Regions from separate parts of the Homo sapiens genome. Here region 2 is linked to region 1. The links are contacts of gene promoters, found by promoter capture Hi-C in human tissues and cell types (Jung and others, 2019). All regions are on one chromosome and are shown on one strand. Each heading gives the region's core, a stretch centred on a gene start or on the middle of the fragment in contact. The rest is flanking DNA. Distances are from core to core; before and after follow the strand shown.

Evidence for each region. The method cuts DNA at HindIII sites, captures the fragments that hold promoters and counts their contacts. A contact is called where the count stands out against the background at its distance.
Region 2: a fragment that was not itself captured here is called in contact with the fragment with the promoter of ZSCAN21 in region 1 in 2 of the 25 tissues and cell types used here (dorsolateral prefrontal cortex and hippocampus).

What each region holds. Positions count from the first base shown.
Region 1 is chr7:100,046,609-100,052,406 of GRCh38, reverse strand. It overlaps ZSCAN21 (zinc finger and SCAN domain containing 21), which reads right to left and starts at 2,633. Exons shown (of 4, transcript NM_145914.3): 1 at 2,566-2,633. RefSeq lists an enhancer at 2,112-2,731. The HindIII fragment of the contact is 16,971 bases long and covers 1-5,798 here.
Region 2 is chr7:99,571,961-99,577,758 of GRCh38, reverse strand. ZNF655 (zinc finger protein 655) reads right to left here. Exons shown (of 3, transcript NM_138494.3): 3 at 1,306-5,514. The coding sequence ends at 4,175. Among named protein-coding and RNA genes, the nearest start is that of ZNF655, 16 kb to the right of the region's middle. The HindIII fragment of the contact is 3,683 bases long and covers 1,476-5,158 here.

The sequences.
Region 1 (5,798 bases), core at 1,384-3,883:
CCTAGACTGGAGTGCAGTGGCACAATCACAGCTCACGGAAGTCTTGAACTCCTAGTCTCAAGCCATCTTCTTGCCTTGGTCTCTCAAAGTTCTGGGGTTACAGGCGTGAACCACTTCACTGGGTCTTTATTTTATTGTTTTTCAATTACAGAGGCAGGGTCTCGCTTTGTTGCCCAGGCTGGCGTGTAGTGGTGCCATGACAGCTCACTGCAGCGTTGAACTCCTGGCCTCAAGCGATCCTCTCACCTCAGCCTCCAAAGTAGCCAGGACTACAGGTGTGCATCACCACATCTAGCTAATTAAAAAAAATTTATTTATTGATTTACTTATTTTTGTAGAAACGAAGTCTTGCTTTGTTGCCCAGGCTGAGGCATAACTTGAGCTCAGGAGTTCCGGGCTGCAGAGTTGTGGCTGTACCACTGTGCTCCAGCCTGGGTGACAAAGGAAAACCCTGTCTCTTAAAAAAATAAAGAAGCATGCGGCTAGAAATCAAATGCTTCATTACTAACTCACATTGTCTACAATCACAGTGACTTTTTAAAAGCTATCTAGACTGTTTATCTCAAGAAGTCCATCAAGCAAAAGTTCATGGTCTATCATAAACAGAAGGCCCTTGTTCTGTGTCCATTTTCCCTCCTCCTTTATGCCAATCTCCCACAGCTTATATGCCCTTATGAAAGCGCCCCAAGTCCATTCTGTAACAAGATGAGGCATAAAAAAATCAAATTACCATAGATTCTAAAAGTAGAACAGCACTTACCCACTTGTGCTAAAATGCTTCACACTCAGTCCGTACCTGAAAATCCCTAGGGGGCCCGGCGCCGTGGCTCACACCTGTAATTCCAGCACTTTGGGAGGCCCGAGGCGGGCAGATCACGAGGTCAGGAGATCGAGACCATTCTGGCTAACACGGTGAAACCCCGTCTCTACTAAAAAATACAAAAAATTAGCCAGGCGTTGTGGCGGGCGCCTGTAGTCCCAGCTACTTGGGAGGCTGAGGCAGGAGAATGGCTAGAACCCGGGAGGCGGAGCTTGCAGTGAGCCGAGATCGCGCCACTGCATTCCAACCTAGGCGACAGAGCGAGACTCCATCTCAAAAAAAAAAAAAAAAAAAAAAAAAAAAAGAAAATCCCTAGATCCCTAGGCAGCCAAATTAGATAATTCTTGAGCCACAGAATTCCACTAATTGTTACAAGTTCTTCCTTTTTTTTTTTTTTTTTTTTTTTTTGAGACGTAGTTTCACTCTTGTTTCCCAGGCTGGAGTGCAATGGCGCGATCTCGGCTCACCGCAACCTCTGCCTCCCAGGTTCAAGCGATTCTCCTGCCTCAGCCTCCTTACAGGCATGTGCCACCACGCCCGCCTAATTTTGTATTTGTAGTAGAGACGGGGTTTCTCCATGTTGGTCAGGCTGGTCTCGAACTCCCGACCTCAGGTGATGCACTCGCCTCGGCCTCCCAAAGTGCTGGATTACAGGCATGAGCCACCGCGCCCGGCCACACAAATTCTTTAACCTGAATCAAATTCCGCATCATTTCAAAAATCCTAGGTTAGTCCAAGACCAATACTCACTTTCTCCATAGCAGCCTTCCAACACTTGAAAACAATTATCTTGCCTCTTAATTCTTTTCCTCTCCACAGCTCAACTGTTCCTTAGATTTCGTGGGTTTCCAAGTACCTCACCCATCAAATCAACGTTCTTTTTTTTTGTGAGACCAAGTGTTGCTCTGTCGCCCAGGCTGGAGTGCAGTGGCGTGATCTCGGTTCAGTGCAACCTCCACCTGGTGGGTTCAAGCGATTCTCCTGCCTCAGCCTCCTGAGTAGCTGGGATTACAGGCGCGCTCCACCACACCCAGCTAATTTTTGTATTTTTCGTGGGGACAGGGTTTGGCCAGGCTGGTCTCGAACTCCTGACCTCAAGTGATCCGCCGGCCTCGGCCTCCCGAACTGCTGGGATTACAGGCGTGAGCCACCGCGCCTGGCCCAAATCAACTTTGTCCTGACACTCTTTTATTTATACATGGTTCTTTAAGACTGTTTTTCTAAACCATGAGCAGATCCCTATTCTGTGTGTGTGTTCTAGCCCGAACAAAGCCCGAGGGGACTATTTCTTCCCTTGGATTTGATTCTACCCAACACTTCTAATGAGGTTCGGCTTCCCACAGGTTTCCAACACCTTGGGCGTATTGCCATCAATGAGCCTTGCGTTCGGACCTCCAGTTCAGAGAAAGGGAAAAAAGGCGGCCACGGTCAGACTGATAGACGGCTTGGCTTGGGGAACGCACAAAAAAAACTATTCTGGAACGCGAAAGAACTTCCAAAACATCTGTTCTTCCAGCTTTCATTTGTTAAAGCCCCAAGTGGAAGAAAAGGCTTTCCAGGCAGCCAGCGCCCCCACCAGCTGGTCCTGGGCGGGGACGAGGAGCTCCTCCCCACAGCCCTGCTAGGACCGGTCTAGGTGGGGTCCTCGGAAGCCACAGCTGCTAAACCCACTCCTCCCTCCCCAGACCATTCAGCCACGGCTCCCTCTCCTGTCCGCCTCGCTAACCCGCGACCAGCAGGCTCACCATGAATCAGAGCCGCTCCGGGTACCGGGAGACCGCACCGCGTACCTCGGGACCGCGCACCCGGAAGTGCGTCATAGCCCCGCCCCCGCGGAAAAGTAGTGCGGGGCCGTAGCGGCCCCTCTAGAAATTCGGGAGGTCCTCTCTGTGTCTCTGGCCCTTGGGACATCAGGGAGGAGTTGAGTCCACCCCGAAAATGAAAAGCCAGGGACTCTTTCTGTTTTTACCGAAGACGGTCAGACCAGATGAAGGCTGCGGCGGTTCTCTCACCCAACCCCGACGCCCTGGGGCAGGGAGGGCATGGGCTGAGGCAGCCACCTCGGTCACCCTCGTGGACTTCAGAGCCCAAGGTCCCTGAGTACCCTTGGGATAAGCACAGGGTTCCTTGTCCATAAACCTGGATCGAGGTCACTGGATACCCTTGGGCCCAGCTCCTCGGTCCAGGTTTATGGACATGGAACGCTGTGCTTGGCCCGTGAAGCCAGAGATTGAGTTAATACTTCGTTGATGAAAACAATCAAACTGTAAAATATTTGAAGACATTTATTTTGAGACAAATATGAGTGACCAATGGCCCAAGGTACAGTCTCAAGAGGTCCTAAGAACATGTACCTATGATGGTCGGGCTACAGCTTGGGTTTATACAATTTAGGGAGACATAAGACACCAATCAAGACATGTAAGATGAACATTGGTTCTGTGGGAAAGGCAGGACAATTCCAAGCGGGGATGTTCCAAGTCATAGGTGAACTCAAGGATCTTCTAATGGGCAACTGGCTGAAAGTTATTGTCTAAAGACCTATAATCAATAGAAAGGAATGTCTGGGATGACTAAGGCAGGGGTCCCCAACCCTTGGGGCACAGACAGATACCAGTCCATGGCCTGTTAGGAACTGGGCCGTTACTGCAGGAGGTGAGCTGCAGGAGCAAAGCTTCACCTGTATCTACAGCCACTCCCCATTGCTCTAATTACTGCCTGAGCTCCGCCTCCTGTCAGATCAGCCATAGCATTAGATTCTTACAGGAGCACAAACCCTATTGTGGACAGTGCATGCGAGGGATCTAGGTTGTGCACTCTTTATGAGAATCTAATACCTGATGATCTGTCGCTGTCTCCCATAATTCCCCAATGGAACCCTCTAATTACAGGAAAACAAACTCAGGGCTCCCACTAATTCTATGTTATGATGAGTTGTACAATTATTTCATGATATATTACAATGTAATAATAATAGAAATAAAGTACACAATAAATGTAATGTGCTTGAATCATCCTGAAACCACGAAACCATCCATCCCCCTCCTGCCATCCATGGAAAAAACTGTCTTCCACAAAACTGGTTCCTGGTGCCAAAAAAGGTTGGGGACCGCTGAACTAAGGGGTTGTGGAGACCAGGGTTCCCATTATGCAGATGGAGCCTCCAGGCAGCCGGCTTCAGAAAGAACAGACTGCAAATATTTCTTATCAGACTTTAAAAAGTGCCAGACGCCCAGTTGATTCTCTCCTGGATCAGGAAAAAGGCCTGGAAAGGGAAGGGGATTCTCTACCAAGTGTAGATTTTCCCCACGAGAAGACAGCTTGGTAGGGTTATTTCAAGATATGGCAAAAAAACATATTTGGGGTGGAAATATTTTCGTTTCCTTCTTTATCTGCCATGTGATGTTATGCCAGAGCCTGGTTGAAAAGTCAGCCAGGTTATATAAAGTTAAATAAAACCTGTCTGATGAGGCTTTATGGTTTGAAGGGGGTGACTCTCCAGGCCCCTTAGATAGTAATTTGGGCAAAAGAAGAAAACAGTCAGAGTTTAGTCCTCAACTTTGCAGACCAGGGTCATGGTGACATCAATCAGAAGTAGCCTTGCCCTTCTGTGGGTCCTAAACTTCCTGAGCAGAAGACCTAGGGGCTGAACTCCTTCCAATGCTGCAGGACTCGATGAAGATGTCTTTGCCTGCCTTTTCCTCCTGCTGCTCTGGCTCAGCTGCAGGTTTCCAGACTGAAGAGTCTGTATTTTCCACCTCAGCACTACTCCATCGGGCCCCCTGTGAGTTTGCTTTTGTCTGGTCCTGCAAAACTCACATGTGTTGAGGAACACCAATATGGCTGCCTGCACGTGGAATTCCCTGTCCATACGCGTCATGAATTCATAGATACTCAATATCATTTTTCCCTGACATTTTCCAGGATAATTTAAAAATTTTTTATGTTTAAAGACATGCAAAATTAGAGAAAATGAGCCTCCATGTGCATTCTTTTGTTTCTTTCTTTTTTTTTTTTGAGATGGAGTCTTACTCTGTCGCCAGGCTGGAGTGCAGTGGTGCAATCTAGGCTCACTGCAACCTCCGCCTCCTAGGTTCAAGCGATTCCTCTGCCTCAGCCTCCCGAGTAGCTGGGACTACAGGCGCGCACCACCACGCTCGGGTAATTTTTTATTTTTTTTTGTATTTTAGTAGAGACAGGGTTTCACCATGTTGGCCAGGATGGTCTTGATCTCCTGACCTCATGATCTGCCCGCCTCGCCCTCCCAAAGTGCTGGGATTACAGGTGTGAGCCACCGTGCCCGGCTGTTTCTTTACTTCTCTAATAAACTTGCTTTCTCTTAAAAAAAAAAAAAAATGAGCCTTGGCAGGGCACGGTGGCTCACGCCTGTAATCCCAGCACTTTAGGAGGCTGAGGCAGGCGGATCACAAGGTCAAGAGATCGAGACCATCCTGGCCAACATGGTGAAACTCTGTCTCTATTAAAAATACAAAAATTAGCTGGGTGTGGTGGCACATGCCTGTAATCCCAGCTACTCGGGTGGCTGAGGAAGGACAATTGCTTGAACCCAGGAGGCAGACATTGCAGTGAGCTGAGATTGCACCCCTGCACTACAGCCTGGTGACAGAGTGAGACTCTGTCTCACCAAAAAAAAAAAAAAAGCCTCCATATACATTGGCCAGCTTTAACAATTGTTACATGGTTAGTCCTTTTAATTCATTCCCCCATGGTCTTGAACTCGTGACCTCAAGTGATCCACCTGCCTCAGCCTCCCAAAGTGCTGGGAGCCACCGTGAGCCACTGTGCCTGGCCCCAAAATCTCCATTTTATAGACCAGGAAACAGGCTCCAAAAAGTCACTTTTCCAATATCACACAACTGATACGTGGGAGCATCAGGAGTGAAACTTGGCCCCCTTTCTCCAAAGCCTGTGCTCTACTGCCTCTCAGTTAGACGGGGAAGAAAGAGATGGGAAATGG
Region 2 (5,798 bases), core at 2,068-4,567, 480 kb after region 1:
CCTAGTATCCCAGAGAGCTCTCGGAGCACTTGAGATCAGTTGCAAACTAATGACAGTGAGTCATCAGCGATGTACTAGGGAATGAAGAGCTATCAAACTTCTCTGGGTTTTGAGATCTGTGTAATACCAACATCACTTTGGGGTATATTGTTGTTTTTTGTTTTTTTGTGTTTTCTTGAGACAGAGTCTCACTCCGGAGTGCAGTGGCACAATCTCGGCTCATTGCAACCTCTGCCTCCCAGGCTCAAGCTATTGTTGCGCCTCAGCCTCCCAGGTAGCTGGAATTATAGGCACGCAACACCATGCCTGGCTAATTTTTCTATTTTAAGTAGAGACTGGGTTTCGCCACATTGGCCAGGCTGGTCTCCAACTCCTGACCTCAAGTGATCTGCCCGCCTCAGCCTCCCAAAGTGTTGAGATTACAGGCGTGAGCCACTGCACCTGGCCTGGGGTATGTTTACTAAAATATTCCTTTGTAAAATGAAGCTAGCTGCTTTGCAGAATTGAGAATAAAGTTTAGATATGTACAAACATACGTGTGTGTAGGTAGGTGGAAAGACAGAAGATAAAAGTGCCCTCTACTATCGTATTTCTCTTCTCTCCCCTTTCAAGACCAAAATGACTCAGAACACAAACTCATGTATCAGGCCAATTAAATATCTGCTTAAAGGATTGCCCTAAAGGACTATTTTGAGTCCGCCTTTTTTAAAGTGTTTTACTTATTTAAAAAATATGGCTGGGCACAGCGGCTCACGCCTGTAATCCCAGCACTTTGGGAGGCTGAGGCAGGCAGATTACCTGAGGTCAGGAGTTTGAGACCAGCCTGGCCAACACAGTGAAACCCGGTCTCTACTAAAAATACAAAAATCAGCCAGGCAAGGTGGCAGGTGCCTGTAATCCCAGCTACTTGGGAGGCTGACACAAGACAATCGTTTGAACCCAGGAGGCGGAGGTTGCAGTGAGCCGAGATCACGCTACTGCACTCCAGCCTGGGTGACAGAACGAGACTGTCTCAAAAAACAAACAAACAAACAAAAAGTTATTCCTAGTTCTACTGAAACCTCGAACTATTTAGTCTTATTTTATATACCAACAACTTCCCAATCAAATCCCCTTTAAGTCCCAAACATTCAGCTTTTGTTCCAGAGGTCTGTGGAAAAGCAAGCTTTGTTATCAATGCAAAGGAAAGTGATCCATTCTTGCTGTGAAGCAAGTTCCAGGGAGGAAAGGAGTTGCAGCCAGAGATGTGATTCCAACATTCCCAAACGCTTCTGTCTGAGACCTTCAGATTTTGTTTGAAACAAATTCTCAGAATACCAAACACACCTTTATTCAAGTGGAAGTACAAAAGCACATTCCTAAACCAAACGCATACATGTGATTTTTACATATTCTGCTTTTTAGGGATTACATAATCCTGTTTCAGTCACCATACGTGACTACTGGTCTCTATACATAAGGGTATACATGTTTGACAGGAAAAAACACATGCATTTTTCATTTGCTTTTACATTTAGATCAATTCATTTATATATCAATTTCATTTAGATTCCTACCTTGCCTTGATGAAATCCTACTCTTGCTGATGGCAAAGAAGTAAAATATAGTGGCAGAACTATCCTAGAGGTTAGCCATAGGAGGATTATAGAGTGAGCAACATATTTTTATATATTTGTTGAGGGTCCCTACTGAATATTATAACACTGAACTATGAAAGCCTCAATTGCTGGACTGACAACAAGAATTTTAAATAACATTTGTCTTACTCACAAAATGTTATAAAGCTTAAGATGGAAAAATACAAAATGTTTTGACATTACCTAAAGAATCATGAACTCTTGTTAGGTATATGATGGTGGCCCTGAACTTGAGCCAACATCTGTAATCACTTTTATCAGTCAAAAAGCCATGTTCTTTTATATAGCCTGTAGACTATTAAAATACAAAAATGTGGTAATGGATAAACAACTATACACAAAGCCCTCACACTTCAAATACTGTCCTGGATTGATGAGAGAGGAGCAGAATTCAAACATTTATCTGCAATCCTAATGGTTAAAATTTTACCAGGAACAGACCTGCCACTCTCTTGAAATACTGTCTCTGAGATTAACATACGAACAGCATCATCTCTGTTGGAAGGCTACATTCCCTTATGATGCTGATTTGTGTGTGTGTGTGTGTGTGTATGGTTTTTTGTTTTTGTTTTTTTGTGTTTTTTTGAGAGAGAGTCCTGCTCTGTCGCCCAGGCTGGAGTGCAGTGGTGCAATCTCGGCTCACTGCAACCTCCGCCTCCCAGGTTCAAGCAGTTCTCCTGCCTCAGCCTCCTGAGTAGCTGGGATTACAGGCGCGTGCCACCACACCCGGCTAACTTTTGTATTTTTAGTAGAGACGGGGTTTCACCATGTTGGCCAGGATGGTCTCGACTGCCTGACCTCGTGATCCATCCGCCTCAGCCTCCCAAAGTGCTGGGATTACAGGTGTGAGCCACCATGCCCGGCCTGTGTATCTTCTTTATGTTTACCCTACCAAGAGCAGACCTGAGCATTTTGCTGGCCGTAGAGGTATATAAAAGAACTCTAAGCTTAGGCATGCAGAATAGGCACTGGATGAATGTAGTGAGGCTATTAGGAGTCTTGTTGGCTCCCTGATGTCCTTATCATGTCTTCTTCGCAGACTGTGGATGCACACAAGACAGCTAAAACCTTGGGCATCATTTGAAAATGTTTGGCTGCCTGCTACAATCTCAGGAGAGAGAATCCTTCATACTTATATTGGACTGGATATATTGTCAATCAAATTCTTTTTTAAAAAAAGATGCTTCACTTTAGGAAATAAGACACCAGACCAGCAACATCAAGTAGGTATGGAATACTTGCTGGTGAAACACTTAAAACTAGGAAACTTCTAAATCTTCTAAAGGTGCTTAAGAGAATGGAGAAGTTAATCAACAGGAATCCAAGTGTTGTGGCTGTAAAGCAATACGACATAAGATCCCTAGTAAAGAGCAGGCCTAAGAGTTGGTTTTGGAAAGAACTTGGGCCAAGAACAGCAGAAAAAGCTAAATGAGCTACTTACGTCGATGTGTTTTAATACTGGTGCATTAGCAGTATCTTATGGAAGTTGTGAACACTAAGAACCAATTTCAAAAAATATAAAAATGTTTATAGGGCATATTAAAATAAAAACAGCTTAAATGAGTTCTATAAATAAAATAGGCCCAGCACAGTGACACACGCCTGTAACCCCAGCACTTTGGGAGGACAGGTGGGAGGATCGCTTGAGGCCAGGAGTTCAAGACCAGCCTGGGCAACAAAGCAAGACCCCATCTCTGTTCTTTTTAATATCAAAATTATAATAAAAAAGTAAAAATAAACGTACCTACTTAGAATACATATTAAATAAAGGAACTCCATGAGAAAATGTCACTGCATTTACCAAGTCAACCCTAGATTTTTGTGCAATGAAAAAGATTGGGACTATGTATTAACAATTTCATAAACAAATAATCAACAATTTTCTCTCCATTATTTCGATGTTGGGTAAAGCCTGAAATGTGGTGTCGAGTTTTTCCATTTGCGTTACATCAAATTCTTGTCTACTATGGATATTCTGATATGACAAAGACTAGTTAAACTCCTATTGAAAGATCTGCCATTTACTACACCCAAATAAGTTCTCTTAGGTATAAATTCTTTGATGTTGAATGAGCGTTGGGTTATGACTGAATCTCCTCACACACATACATGCTTATTACATTTATAATCTTTTTGCATGGCGTGAATTTGATACTAAACAAGGTAGTTTCTTTGACTGATGGCTTTTTCACATTCATTGCAGCAATGGAATTTTATTCCCATGTGAATTCTCCAAATGTGACTAAGGTATGAAAATACTAATAGCATGAAAAATTTGCCACATTCAATACATTTGTAAGATTTCTCACTGGTATAGATTTGCAGGAGTCGATTAAGAGTTTAACACTAATACCTTTTCTTCATTCGTCACATTCAGAGGGTTTCTCTCTGGTGTGAATTATCTGATGCTGAGCAATGGCTGAGCTATGACTGAAGGCTTTACCACATGCAGTACATACATGATTTCTCCCTGGTGTGAACTCTCAGATGCTGAATGAAGCCTGAATTTGATAAATATCTTCCCATCTTCATTACATTCATGAGTTCTCTTTGGTATGAATGCTCTGATGTTGAACTAGATGTGCTCTCTGACTGGAGTTCTTTTCCCATACATCACAATCAAAGGCTTTCTGTCTGGTGAGGACTTCTTGTTGCAGGATAAGATCTGAGCTATGACTGAAACTGCCCTCATACTCATTACATTCATACGATTTCTCTTTCCTATGCATTTTGTGATGCTGAATAAGGCATGAGGTTTGACTGAAAGCTTTTCCACATTCATTACATTCATGTGCTTTCTCTCCTGTGTGAATTCTTTGATGCTGAATAAGATGTGAATTCAATCTGAAGTCTTTTCCACATTCACTACACGTATAGGGCTTTTCTCTGAAATGAATTCCTTGTTGTTTAATATAGGCCAACCCATATTCATCATACTCATAGGCTTTCTCTTCATGATGGACCCTCTGATGTTCAAGTAGGTATGAAGTATGGCAGAAGTCACTGCCACATACAGTACACTTACAGGGCATCTCTTTGTGAATTTTCTGATGTTGAGTAAGGTGGACACTACGACTGAAGACTCTTTCACAACTGCTACATTTGTAAGATTTGGCTCTGGTGTGAATTTTCTTATGCTGAATTATGCCTGAGCTTGGACTACAGGATTTATCAGACGCTTCACAGGATTTATCAGATGCTTCACATTTGTAAGGTTTTTCTCTAGTGTGTATTCTTTTATGTCGACTAAGACTTGAGCTCTGACTGAAAGACTTTTCACATTCTTTACATTTGTAGGGCTTCTCTCTAGTATGGATTCTCTGATGTCTAGTAAGGGCTGAGCTCTGATGGAAAATTTTCCCACATACATCACATTTATAGGATTTCTCAGTGTTAGGGATGCTCTCCCATTTATTAAGGTGGGAGAGATCCATTAAGCTTTCCTTACATTCACTACTCTGAAAATCCTCTGTTAGATTTAAGTGTTCATGTTTACCAGAGGCTGAATTCTGGTTGAAGCTCATGTCATACTTATCATTGTCATCGGTATTCTGTATTCTAAGAACTCTCTGATCTGCATCAATAGTAGAGTCCAGACTGAAGCTTTTTTCGGGTTCATGACATTCATTGTTCTTCTCACTGGTGAAGGTTTCCTTGCTGATTGTTATTTGCCTAAACTCTCTCTCCAGGTACAGAAATTTCCTTAGAATTTCCTGAAGTCTTTCTAATCTGTCCTCAGACTTATACACTTCTCTAGTCTCAGGAACTTGGGTAATATCGTGTTTGAGTCTTCCTACTCTCACTTTGTATGAATGCACTTCTTCCGAAATTTTCTGCTTAGGAATCAACAGCTTGTTCTCTTCTCTGGTCTCTCCATCTGATACAATATATAAATAGAAAATGCAAATGTAATCTGTACCCTGTGCTTAGGAAAAGAAAACTCAGATGAGAAAACTAAACAATGTAGTATCTACAAGGACAAGAAAAGTTTATTTACTCTGAAAAACAGGCACAAAATCTCAACAGCAGAAGTTAAGGGCATAAACAGGAGCAGTGAGGTAAAACAGCGGACATGTTCAGCAGAGTAAGGAAATAATAGGGAAACAGCTGAAAGAATTTTAGATAAGCAACTTGATTGGGGTCTAGTACGACATGTGCACG